Regions from separate parts of the Homo sapiens genome. Here region 1 is linked to region 2. The links are contacts of gene promoters, found by promoter capture Hi-C in blood cells and fetal thymus (Javierre and others, 2016). All regions are on one chromosome and are shown on one strand. Each heading gives the region's core, a stretch centred on a gene start or on the middle of the fragment in contact. The rest is flanking DNA. Distances are from core to core; before and after follow the strand shown.

Evidence for each region. The method cuts DNA at HindIII sites, captures the fragments that hold promoters and counts their contacts. A CHiCAGO score of 5 or more calls a contact.
Region 1: a contact is called between a fragment that was not itself captured here and the fragment with the promoter of NTN3 in region 2, in 1 of 17 cell types (endothelial precursors). The highest score is 5.3, in endothelial precursors.

The regions. Positions count from the first base shown.
Region 1 is chr16:2,290,424-2,296,810 of GRCh38, forward strand. ABCA3 (ATP binding cassette subfamily A member 3) reads right to left here. Exons shown (of 33, transcript NM_001089.3): 18 at 5,167-5,317; 19 at 1,717-1,815. Among named protein-coding and RNA genes, the nearest start is that of MIR4717, 19 kb to the left of the region's middle. The HindIII fragment of the contact is 8,617 bases long and covers 1-6,387 here.
Region 2 is chr16:2,466,923-2,473,079 of GRCh38, forward strand. It overlaps NTN3 (netrin 3), which reads left to right and starts at 4,375. Exons shown (of 6, transcript NM_006181.3): 1 at 4,375-5,707; 2 at 5,779-5,967; 3 at 6,063-6,157. The coding sequence starts at 4,780. It overlaps TEDC2-AS1 (TEDC2 antisense RNA 1), which reads right to left and starts at 1,291. Exons shown (of 1, transcript NR_135198.1): 1 at 1-1,291. RefSeq lists silencers at 740-789, 850-1,189, 1,200-1,249, 4,513-4,652 and enhancers at 1,697-2,240, 2,200-2,339, 2,500-2,579. The HindIII fragment of the contact is 14,643 bases long and covers 2,684-6,157 here.

The DNA of each region.
Region 1 (6,387 bases), core at 3,010-5,509, 180 kb before region 2:
TCAGGTGTGGGGCCTGGAGCTGAGTCACAGGTGGGCCGTGTGGTGAGTATGAGATGGGGCCAGAGAGGCCTGAGACCTTGAGAGACAAGAGGCCCTGTGGCTGCTGAGACGCAGCAGGATCAACCCGGGTTCTACCCTCAGAGCCGGCTGACTCCAGGCCAGCCCGTGGTTTCTTTCTGTTATGTTCATGCTTCCTTCCTTCCTTCAACCAGGATTCACAGAATCAGTCAGTCAGTGCTCGGTCCTGTGTGGGACACAGGTCAGCGGGCAGTCCCTCCCTCCCTCCGCCGCCTTGCCTGGCCTTTTTCCCTGGGTCTGTTCCTGGACACATGGTCCCCTGCACAGGTGTCCCCAGAGCATGCACCACCATGTCCTGCATGTATGATCACCTATTCTGTCGCCTCCTCTAGGCTGTGGGCTCCCTAAGGAGGAAAACCTATCTCACGTTTTTTTCTTTTTCTTTTGACACAGGGTTTTGCTCTGTCCCCCAGGGTGGAGTGCAGTGGCACAATCTCAGCTCACTGCAACCTCCACTTCCCAGGTTCAATTGATTCTCCTGCCTCAGCCTCCCAAGTAGCTGAGATTACAGGTGTGTGCCACCATGCCCGGCTAATTTTTGTAGTTTTAGTAGAGATGGTGGCTGGGGGTGGTGGCTCACGCCTGTAATCCCAGCACAGATCTTCAGGTGGGTCACCTGAGGTCAGGAGTTCCAGACCAGCATGGCAAAACCCCATCTCTGTTAAAAATACAAAAAAACTAGCTGGGCGTAATGACGTGCGCCTGCAGTCCCAGCTACTGAGGCTGAGGCAGGAGAATCGCTTGAATCTGGGAGGCAGAGGTTGCAGTGAGCTGAGATTGCACCACTGCACTCCAGCCTGGGAGACAGAGTGAGACTCTGTCTCAAAAAAAAAGAGATGGGATTTCACCATGTTGACCAGGCTAGTCTCAAACTCCTTGGCTCAAGTGATCGCCTGCCTCGGCCTCCCAAAGTGCTGGGATGACAGGCGTGAGCCACCACGCCCAGCCCCCATGCAGTTCTGAGGGTCTGGATGAGATAGTTCCCATCTTCATTAACGACACAGGTATCTCCCAAGGACGATCTAAGCCCAAGAAGAGCTGGGCACGCCTCTGACGCCGTGTGCCAGCTAGACCCGTGGCGGGTCTAGGAGGGACCCCAAGGCAGTGCAGGCCCCTCACGTGTGCCGCCGTTTCCCACGCACACCAATGTTGCTGACAGTCACAATCTGCACTTGGGGCTCTGACGGCGGCCACTGCCCGCCCCACCCCAGGCTGTTCCTCCAGCCTCACGTGGGCATTTGAGATCATAACCGAGGTGACTGTTTATCACTGCACTTTTTAGAAGTCCTCGGCTGAGCACGGTGCCTCACGCCTGTAATACCAGCACTTTGGGAGGCCAAGGTGGGCGGATCACCTGAGGTCAGGAGTTTGAGACCAGCCTGACCAACATGGAGAAAACCCATCTCTACTAAAAATACAAAATTAGCTGGGTGTGGTGGCACATGCCTGTAATCCCAGCTACTCGGGAGGCTGAGGCAGGAGAATCTCTTGAACCCAGGAGGCGGAGGTTGCGGTGAGCCGAGATCGCACCACTGCACTCCAGCCTGGGCAACTAGAGTGAAACTCCATCTCAAAAAAAAAAAGTCCTCTGCAGCACGGAGCCCAGTCCTAGGTGGACGGAAATGCGCATTTACTGACCGAAGGAAGACTTCCTCCATGGTGGTGATGGATGCCCCAAAGCTGGCAATGCCCAGCTCTTTCTGCTTCTTCTCCAGTTTAGCAAAGAGACCTTCAAACCTGAAAAACAGACCCAGCATTATGAGTCACTTCTCAGTGACTTTCTAGATAATTTGTTCCTAAAGCATCACCCCCCCTCGGCCAGGCACAGTGCCTCACACCTGTAACCCCAGCACTTTGGGACGCCAAGGCGGGCGGATCACCTGAGATCAGGAGTTCGATACCAGTCTAGTCAACATGGTGAAACCTGTCGCTATTAAAAACATAAAAAATTAGCCACGTGTGGTAGCAGGTGCCTGTAGTCCCAGCTACTCAGAAGGCAGAGGCAGGAGAACACTTGAACCCAGGAGGTGGAGGCTGCAGTGAACCGAGATTGCGCTACTGCACTCCAGCCTGGGTGGCAGAGTGAAACTCTGTCTCAAAAAAATAAATAAATAAATAAAATTAAAAAAATAAGGAGGCCAGGTGCAGTATCTCACACCTGTAATCCTAGCACTTTGGGAGGCCGAGGTGGGCGAATTGCCTGAACTCAGGAGTTCGAGACCAGCCTGAGCAACACGGTGAAACTCTGTCTCTACTAAAATAAATAAAACAAAACAAAACAACAAACAACAACAACAACAAAAACTACCCAGTCATGGCGGCTTGTGCCTGTAATCCCAGCTACTCGGGAGGCTGAGGCAGGAGAATTGCTTGAACCCGGGAGGCGGAGGTTGCGGTGAGCTGAGATCGCACCACTGGACTCCAGCCCGGGCAACAGAGCAAGACTCCGTCTCCAAAAACTAAACTAAACTAAACTAAAATGAATCACCCCCCTAATCCCCCTATAGAATGGGGCAGGGGCCACAGGAGGTTAATTCCTTGAAATACCTTTTTTTTTCTTTTTTTCTTTAGATGGAGTTTTGCTCTGTCACCCAGGCTGCAGTGCAGTGGCACAGTCTCGGCTCACTGCAAGCTCCGCCTCCCAGGTTCATGGCATTCTCCTGCCTCAACCTCCAGAGTAGCTGGGACTATAGGCGCCCGCCACCACACCCAGCTAATTTTTTGTATTTTTAGTAGAGATGGGGTTTCACCGTGTTAGCCAGGATGGTCTTGATCTCCTGACCCTGTGATCCACCTGCCCTGACCTCCCAAAGTGCTGGGATTACAGGCAATGAGCTACCAAGCTACCGTGCCTGGCCAAAATGCCTTTTTTTTTTTTTTTTTTTTTGGAGACAGGGTCTTGGTCTGTCACTCAGGCTGGAGTGCAGTGGTATAATCTCGGCTCACTGAAGCCTTGACCTCCCGGGCTCAAGCAATCCTCTCACCTCAGCCTCCCAAGTGTCTGGGGCTACAGGTGTGCACAACTACACGTGGCTAAGTTTTTTTTTTTTTTTTGAGACTGAGTCTTGCTCTGTCACCCAGGCTGGAGTGCGGTGGCGCGATCTTGGCTCACTGCAAGATCTGCCTCCCGGCTTCATGCCATTCTCTTGCCTCAGCCTCCCGAGTAGCTGGGACTACAGGTGCCCGCCACCACGCCCGGCTAATTTTGTTTTTGTATTTTTAGTAGAGATGGGGTTTCACCATGTTAGCCAGGATGGTCTCGATCTCCTGACCTCGTGATCCACCCGCTTCGGCCTCCAAGTGCTGGGATTACAGGTGTGAGCCACCGTGCCTGGCCATGTGGCTAATTTTTAATTTTTTTGTAGAGATGGGGTCTCACTATGTCGCCCAAGCTGATCTCCTTCTCCTTCTGCCTTGGCTTCTGAAAGTGTTGGGATTACAGGCATGAGCAACCATGCCTGGCTAAAAGTGAGGTTCATATGGTTTGATTCCCTGGTTTTTTCTTTCTTTTTTTTTTTTTGAGATGGAGTCTCCCTCTGTCACCCAGGCTGGAATCCAGGGGTGCAGGGGTGCAGGGGTGTGATTTCGGCTCACTGCAACCTCTGCTCCTGGGTTCAGTGATTCTCCTGCCTCAGCCTCCTGAGTAGCTGGGATTACAGGCACCCACCACCACGCCCGGCTAATTTTTGTATTTTTTTTTTTTTTTAGTAGAGACGAGGTTTCACCGTGTTGGCCAGGATGGTCTCGATCTCCTGACCTCATGGTCCGCCCGCCTTGGCCTCCCAAAGTGCTGGGATTACAGGCGTGCGCCACTATGCACAGCTGCGAAACACTTTCTAAGAATAAAATTAATAGAAGAAGTCACAAGAGAAAGGATGTTGCTACATTAAGTACAAAATCTAGGCCGGGTGCAGTGGCTCACACCTGGAATCCCAGAACTTTGGGAGGCTGAGGCGGAAGGATCACTTAAGCCCAGGAGTTCAAGACCAGCTTGGGCAACATAACAAGACCCCATCTCTACAAAAAAAATAAAAAAACTAGCCGGACATGTTGATACACACCTGTAGTCCCAACTATTCGGGAGGCTGAGGTGGGAGATCACGAGCCCAGGAATTCAAGGCTGCAGTGAGTTGTGATTGCACCACTGCACTCCAGCCTGGGTGACAGAGCAAGACCTTGTTTTTAAAATAAACAAATGTGGCCAGGCATGGTGGCTCATGCCTGACATCTTAGCACTTTGGGAGGCCGAGGTGGGTGGATCACCTGAGGTCAGGAGTTTGAGACCAGCCTGGACAACATGGTAAAACCCCATCTCTACTAAAAATACAAAAATTAGCCGGGTGTGGTGGTGCACGCCTGTAATCCCAGCTACTTGGGAGGCTGAGGCAGGAGAATTGCTTGAACCTGGGAGGCAGAGGTTGCAGTGAGCTGAGATTGTGCCACTGCACTCTGGACTGGGCAGCAGAGTGAGGCTCCATCTCAAAACAAATAATAAATAAATAACAAATAAAATAAATAAATGTAAAATGGAAAAAAATCTGACAAAATCAAACAACAAACTGGAGAAAAGTGCAATAAACTGATATTATCCAGATAATATCCAGACTGATAGATAGTGTCATGGAACACTGGCTTCCCTCCCCTTGCTGGTTCTGCCGTGTGTGTGAGACAGTGATGAGCAGGTGGTAACATCTCCAGCTCTGACACTGAGACCAAATTCACCACCCACATACAAATACAGACTCGGTTTCACGAGTAGTTCTGAGTGCAGCCGCAGCACGTGTTGAGCCTGGTGTCAGAAGGGGGAGTGTGAGCCCTGCATCAGCGCTGAGCACCCTTTTGGTGAGTCAGATACGTGCTTCTCCTTTTCAGGTCCTAATTATGTTTCTCCTTGCTAGGAGGCCTGGCACCTAGGACCCAGCCAAGCAGATTCATCTGGGCTGATGGTGCCCAGGCTGAGGGTCTAAGAGTGCCGACTGGCCAGGCCAGAGAGGGGCAGAGCAGGTGCCTCTGAGCACAAAGCCCTCATGGCCCATGGGGATCCCATCTTGGATGTATACCTGTGCGTGCCCTCCCTGGGAGGCGTACCTGTGCGTGCTCTCTCTGGGAAGGATGAAAGACAGCTCGGCCCCAGCGCTGCTCTCCAGCGTGGCGTTGGGCACGTGGTGGTGGACCAGCTGGGAGATGTCTTCCGGGTTGCAGTGCGGCTCCTTCACCAGCGTCATGTGATAGCCGGCACCTGGAATACAGGGCCACGTGTGAGATCTTTGGCTGATCCCCCAGGTCTCTTCATGCCCACCCCGGGGTCTCTAGGGCTCACACCAGGCAAGCTGGTGGGAAGGAGGCTAGAGAACCGGAGGTGGGCAGCTGAAGCAGAATGAATGTGTCTTGGAGCTCCCTGTGCTGTCCCAAGGGTGTCACCTCCCGCTCCTGCTGGGAAGAGCTGCTGGGGATCTAGGGTGCTGAGCACTGTCAGGGGCACCTGCTGGAAGGTGGGGTCTCCCCCCAGCTATACAAGCACCAGGGAAGGATATCATCAGCAGCGACGGACCACGTGTGAGGGCTTCTGTCTTGTGGGGTTAACACTGATGGTTATGGTGTGGTTCTAGGAAGGGACTGTCAGCAGGAGCAGGAGCAAGAGCTACCGGCTGCAAGACCGCACTGCACGGCACTATCAGAGATGCATCTCACCTCTTTCCCAACGTCACCGTGCAGGAGATGGAATTCCATGTCCTTTTTTTTTTTTTTGAGACAAGTCTCACTCTGTCACCCAGGCTGGAGTGCAGCTGCACAATCTTGGCTCACTGTAACTTCTCCCTCCTTGGTTCAAGTACTTATTCTCCTGCCTCAGCCTCCCCAAGTAGCTGGGATTACAGGCATGCACCACCATACCTGGTTAAGTTTTTGTATTTTAGTAGAGACAGAGTTTTACCATGTTGGCCAGGCTGGTCTTGAACTCCTGACCTCAAGTGATCTGCCTGCCTTGGCCTCCCAAAGTGCTGGGATTATAGGCGGTGAGCCACCACGCCTGGCCCCATGTCCTCTTTAGAGACAAGGATGCCAGGCCCAGGAAGAACAATGGCTCTGCCAACTGGGCAGTGGGGCAGGAAGTGGCTAGTGAAACTCTCAGAGGCCGTGGTGGATGGTTCCTCATCTCCTAACGCCTGCTGTCCTCCCTCTTGGTAACAAAACCCTGGTATCTTGGCTGAGCATGTGGCTGCCCAGGACAAAGGCCATCCCCTCCAGCCTACTGCTGACCACACTGGGTTGCCACTCAGTCACTAGGGGGCAGAAGTGGGACGTGAACTT
Region 2 (6,157 bases), core at 3,125-5,624:
CAGGAGGTGGATGACACCTGGAGAAAGCCGGGTCTTCTGAGAACCAGATGGAGCGTCGCAGGTAGGTCGTGCTTGTAAAGGGCCTTATAGTCCAGCGGGCCAGAAACACGCTCGGACCCAGAGTCCCAAGTTGAGGGCTGCTGGGGACCAGATGACAGAGACCAAGACAGGAAACCAAAAACCATGGTCCTCGTTGCATTGAGGGGGCGCCTCCAGGGACAGGGCAGCTCCACCCCCTGCCACCGCAGCCTGGCAGCAGCCCCAGGGTCGCACCCCTTGTGCAGATCAGCCAGCCTCGCCCCTCCCGGCAACCCCATTGCTGCCTCCAGGCTTATGCCCAGGTGCCTCTATCTGCAGGAGCCACTGACTCATTTGAAACCCCCAACCACGCTGCGACCGTACACCCCCGTGGCTTTCCAGAGCAGGTGGTCTCTACCTGACGTTATTTCACTGGCTGACTTGGCTCATGGCTCATCCCCCATGCCTACTGGATGTCTGCCTCAGGAGGACAGGGGTGCTATCCCCCCTACCCCGGCCAGGCCCTGATGGGAGCCAGATGTGCACTGACTCAATGATCCACCAATCCCGGGGGCCAACCCAGAGGACAGTGGTGTCCTGGAGCAGGGAGGCGGCCTAGATAGCTTTGTGGGGGTCCTGAGGAGGCCCCAACACAGGAGTCCAGGGCGGGAAAGACAAGCCGCCTCCTCGGACTAACGCCCGCCCACCCCGATTCCCCGCCAAAACCCAGAGGTAGCAGCTGACTCCTCGGGCTCCCGGCTGGCGTCACCGCCTCTGGAGCCAATGGGCTCTGACGTGGCGAGCCTGGAACGCCACTGGGACTGCGCGGGCGTCCACACCACCCACCGAGCGCGGCCACCGCGTTGGCGGCATGAGCGCGCTCGAGCCTCCCCCAGCGGCGCCCGCCTCGCCCCCCGGGCCGGGTCTGGCGCACCCGGAACCCCCCGGGGCCCTGCGCGCCCTGCTCTTGGCCACCGGCGGCGCTGGGGGCTCGTGGCCTCGCTGCATTCTGCCGTTCGGTGCCGTGGCCGTGCTGGCTGGTGCGGCTGCCACGGCCATCACCTTCTCGCTGCGGGGACCCCGCCTGGACCTGGCCCAGGGCTCGTCGCTGGCCGCGCTCAGTGCGGGCCTGGGGCTTCTGACCGCCGCCTTCCTGTGCTGGCGCGCTCGGCGGAGGCGAAGGGCCGGGCGCAGGGAGCCGGGGGCGCCCTGAGCCGCGGGCGAGGCCCCCTCCCATCGAGGTCACCGCGAGCCGGCCGCCCCTCCCTCCAACCTCGCCCCGGCCGGGCGGGCGCAGTGCCAAGCGTGGTCGCAGAGGCCGCCCCCCACACCCCATCCCCAAATCGTTTCTTCTGGAACCCTTTGGGCAGAGAAGGCCACCGGCCGTTTCCCTCCCTCCCTCTCTGCTTTCCCTCTCTTCCCTCCTCCGTCCAACGTCGCATTTCAGCTTTTGACTTGGCGCGCAGAGCTGGCGCGACCGCAGAGCGGCCTGGCTGGGCAGCGGTCTGCGAGGCTGGGGGATCGACCCGGCGCGAGGGTGCTGGGTGCAGGGCAGCGCGACGCGGGCTCGGCCACACCACCCGCCGTTGGGAGCCGGCGCTGTGTCTGCTCCTGGGCTGTCTGCCTTCGGAGCTCGGTTGGAAACCCCCCGAGGCATAATAGGCGCTCGATAAATGTGCAATAGGTGAACATGTGGTGGCTTGCAGGCGTCTGGGGGGAGACAGCAGGTTCTGGGCTGGGCAGGGAATTATTGGATCAACGGGCATCTTACAGGAAAGACTCTCAGCTCCCTGCCGCCTAGGACTGTCCAGCCCATCTATGCCCTCTCCCCAGCCTGTGCCCCAAAGCTGGAGCTGCCACTCTAGGGGTGAGGGGTGGGGTGGGGAGGGGGAGGCGAAGCACTGCGGCCTGAGTTGCAGGTGGGGGGAGGGGAGGCGGAGCTTCTTTGTTGCAGAAGGTGCCAGGAGGGGGCAGGGCCAGTGGAGAGGTGGGAGGTGGGAGAGGCCCCAGCCAGGGGCTGGGACAGGTGGCTGGGTCCCTGGGGAGCAATAAGTCCCGCTTGGGCGCTGTGGGGAGGCCCTTCCTAACTCCCAAACACCATCTGTGAGGGCTGGGGGTGGGGGCAGAGTAGCGTGTGCAGAGGACTGTTCCTGGGGAGAGGCCCTGTGACCAGCGGCCTCCTCCCTGGGGAGCTGGCGGTACAATGGCCCTCTGGGCCCACGGCCTCCCGCCGCTGCTGCTGACCCAGATGAACAATTGGGGCAGGGCTGAGCCCCAGGCACCTACTTTCCCCCACCCCAGAAGCCACCAGACGTTCTGCAGACCCCAGTCCTGGCTCACAGGGAAGCTGAGCTGGAGACAAAGCCAGCCCCTCTGATGAGGGTGGAAGAGGCTGCTGGCCACTGTCCCTCTTGCAGCCTGGCTGGCAGCCAGTCTGGCAGTGGCCCTGACGTCCAGAGACAGCTTGGGTTTCCCCAGAGGCTTGTCTCTGGCCAGTGGGACCCCTCTGTCAGGCCTGGGCTTTTCTCTCCACTGTCCCAGAATGATGATCTCAGCCCCCATAGTCCCCCCAGGGTTCCTCCCACCCTTAGGGTGGGGTGTCGGGGGGTGGGGGTTGGGAGCCAGAAGGACCTTGAAGAGGGTGGTTGGGACGTTTCAGGTTCTAAGCTTGACCCACAGAGCGGAGCGTGAGCCCCGTCAGGTTGAGGTCCCTCAACTTGTAAAGGACACAATTCCCATTCTCTTTATCAGGAAGCTGAGGGGCAGGGGCCCTGTGGCAGAGAGAGAGCCCCTTAGCCCTCTCTGTTCAGTCCTCCGGTGCCCCCATCCCTGTGCATCTGTGGCTGTCACATGCAGATGTGTGGCAAGGAGAAGGTGCCCACCAGCCAGTGTCAGTTGCTCCAGGAGCCAAGCCAGGTGCCCTATCACCCTGTCTTCCCGTTCCTCCCCTCCATGGTCAGGCCCTCCTGCTCCCTCCTCTGGTCCTTCAGTTTCCCCTAGGAGGCTTCCGTGTCCTCCTGCCCCTCCTCTCCCCAACAGCGGGATGCGTCTACCTCTCCATTCTCTTCCTCCTGGTCCTTGCTCATCTCTGGTCGTGTCCAGGGTAGCACCCACGTGGCCTCCTCCACCAGCTGCAGGCCTGGCCTCCCATCTGAAACGGGGCATTCAGGCCTCGATGCTGGCCCTGCACGGAACTTGTTCCCTGCCCCTCCCTGGGATGCTTGGCCTCCTCTGTCAAGGACCTGAAAGTCGGAGGGGAGGAGGTTTCTCTGACCAGAGCTGTTCCTGGACCCTCTTTGGTGGTGTCGCTCCCAGGCACAGCTACCCCATCCCCAGCTAGTCCCCAGGCCACCCAGCTGGGCTTCTGCCTCAGTTTCCCTGCCCAAACGTGCTGTGACGTAGGGCAGTGGGCTCCGGGTTGCGACCAGCCCCTTCCCATGATTAAACCCTACTCCCTGCCCCTGCAGAGGGGTCCTCAACAGCTAACCAAGCCCCCGAACCCCAAGAAGCCACCCCATCCCACCCTCCAGCTTCCATGTCCTCCCTGCCAGCTGGGCCCGTGGCAGAGGTGCCCCTAGAAACTTGCAGACCCAGGGAGCTTTGGGATCAGAATCTGGCCTGGTGCAGGGGATGCTGGCCTCATGTCTTAGCCCAGCTCAGGCCCATGGGGGTGCCCCCCTTCCTCAACATGGGCAGGAGACACTCCAATTTGTGCAGCTCTCGACTTGGGCCTGATGCCACTTGAGACTCATCAAATCCAACAGCTTCAGAGCGCGTGCTGAGTAACAGGCATCTGGCAGGTGAGGAAACAGGAGCCCAAGACATGCAGCCAGAAATGGGGCAGTTGGATTCAAAATTAGACCTGACCGAATCCTGGGTTCCTTCTACTCGAGTAGATGCTGCTTTGGGGATGACCCTTCAACTGGTGGTTACTTGGCTTCCCTACCTGGGGAACATCCAGGGCCTCTGCTGTCAGACCCGGGGCCTTGCCTGCCTGATGGTCTTCAGGGAGGAGGCGACCCAGACCCCCGTCCAGCACGTGGCACAGCCCCAGGAGCAGTAAAGACCTGGCTGTGGGCCCAGGACCCTGCTGGGTGGTCCCCCACGGGCTGCGAAGGCTGAGCTGCCCCCCTCCAGACCCCTCCCGCCAGCGCATTCCTGGCTCCCCGGCCCCTCCCCTGGCTCCCGGGCCTCCCAGCCCCCTTCCCCGCTGGCCCAGCCCGCGTCTGAATCTGCTTCTGATTCCAGCTCTGCGATGAGGCCCCCTCCCCTCCCCTGCCTCCTTCCCGACCCGAGCAGCCCCGCCCCCGGCTGGGCCCGGGCTTGCGCCTGCTGCGCCCCCCACCCCCTCCTGGCACAGCTCGTCCGCCCTCGCTGCAGCCGGGAGGAGGCGGCGGCCCGTGCACCGCAGGCCCCGCCCGCCCACGGCCCTTCCCGGGAGGCCGGGAGACCTGCTCCGCCCGGCCCTCGGTGGGTGAGTGCGAGCGGCGGGTGGGGCCTCCGCGGGCGGAGGCACCGGGAGCGGGGGCGACGCCTGTCATCGCTCTAGGCCCAGCGGGAGGACGCGCCAACATCCCCGCTGCTGTGCTGGGCCCGGGGCGTGCCCGCCGCTGCTCCCACCTCTGGGCCGGGCTGGGGCCGCCCGGGGGCCCTGTTCCTCGGCATTGCGGGCCTGGTGGGCAGAGCCGCGGAGAGGGCTTCTTTTCCCCAAGGGCAGCGTCTTGGGGCCCGGCCACTGGCTGACCCGCAGCGGCTCCGGCCATGCCTGGCTGGCCCTGGGGGCTGCTGCTGACGGCAGGCACGCTCTTCGCCGCCCTGAGTCCTGGGCCGCCGGCGCCCGCCGACCCCTGCCACGATGAGGGGGGTGCGCCCCGCGGCTGCGTGCCAGGACTGGTGAACGCCGCCCTGGGCCGCGAGGTGCTGGCTTCCAGCACGTGCGGGCGGCCGGCCACTCGGGCCTGCGACGCCTCCGACCCGCGACGGGCACACTCCCCCGCCCTCCTTACTTCCCCAGGGGGCACGGCCAGCCCTCTGTGCTGGCGCTCGGAGTCCCTGCCTCGGGCGCCCCTCAACGTGACTCTCACGGTGCCCCTGGGCAAGGCTTTTGAGCTGGTCTTCGTGAGCCTGCGCTTCTGCTCAGCTCCCCCAGCCTCCGTGGCCCTGCTCAAGTCTCAGGACCATGGCCGCAGCTGGGCCCCGCTGGGCTTCTTCTCCTCCCACTGTGACCTGGACTATGGCCGTCTGCCTGCCCCTGCCAATGGCCCAGCTGGCCCAGGGCCTGAGGCCCTGTGCTTCCCCGCACCCCTGGCCCAGCCTGATGGCAGCGGCCTTCTGGCCTTCAGCATGCAGGACAGCAGCCCCCCAGGCCTGGACCTGGACAGCAGCCCAGTGCTCCAAGACTGGGTGACCGCCACCGACGTCCGTGTAGTGCTCACAAGGCCTAGCACGGCAGGTGACCCCAGGGACATGGAGGCCGTCGTCCCTTACTCCTACGCAGCCACCGACCTCCAGGTGGGCGGGCGCTGCAAGTGCAATGGACATGCCTCACGGTGCCTGCTGGACACACAGGGCCACCTGATCTGCGACTGTCGGCATGGCACCGAGGGCCCTGACTGCGGCCGCTGCAAGCCCTTCTACTGCGACAGGCCATGGCAGCGGGCCACTGCCCGGGAATCCCACGCCTGCCTCGGTGAGGCCTTGGAGGGTGGCCTGGGGACCTTGGACACAACCAGCCTGCCCCTGACCCATCCCTCCCTGCAGCTTGCTCCTGCAACGGCCATGCCCGCCGCTGCCGCTTCAACATGGAGCTGTACCGACTGTCCGGCCGCCGCAGCGGGGGTGTCTGTCTCAACTGCCGGCACAACACCGCCGGCCGCCACTGCCACTACTGCCGGGAGGGCTTCTATCGAGACCCTGGCCGTGCCCTGAGTGACCGTCGGGCTTGCAGGGGTGAGCCACCACCGGCCACCTGCAGGCCCTCACCCTCTGACTTCCCAGATCCCCAGACAGGCTTCTGACCAGGCCCTTCCCACCTCTGTCCTCAGCCTGCGACTGTCACCCGGTTGGTGCTGCTGGCAAGACCTGCAACCAGACCACAGGCCAGTGTCCCTGCAAGGATGGCGTCACTGGCCTCACCTGC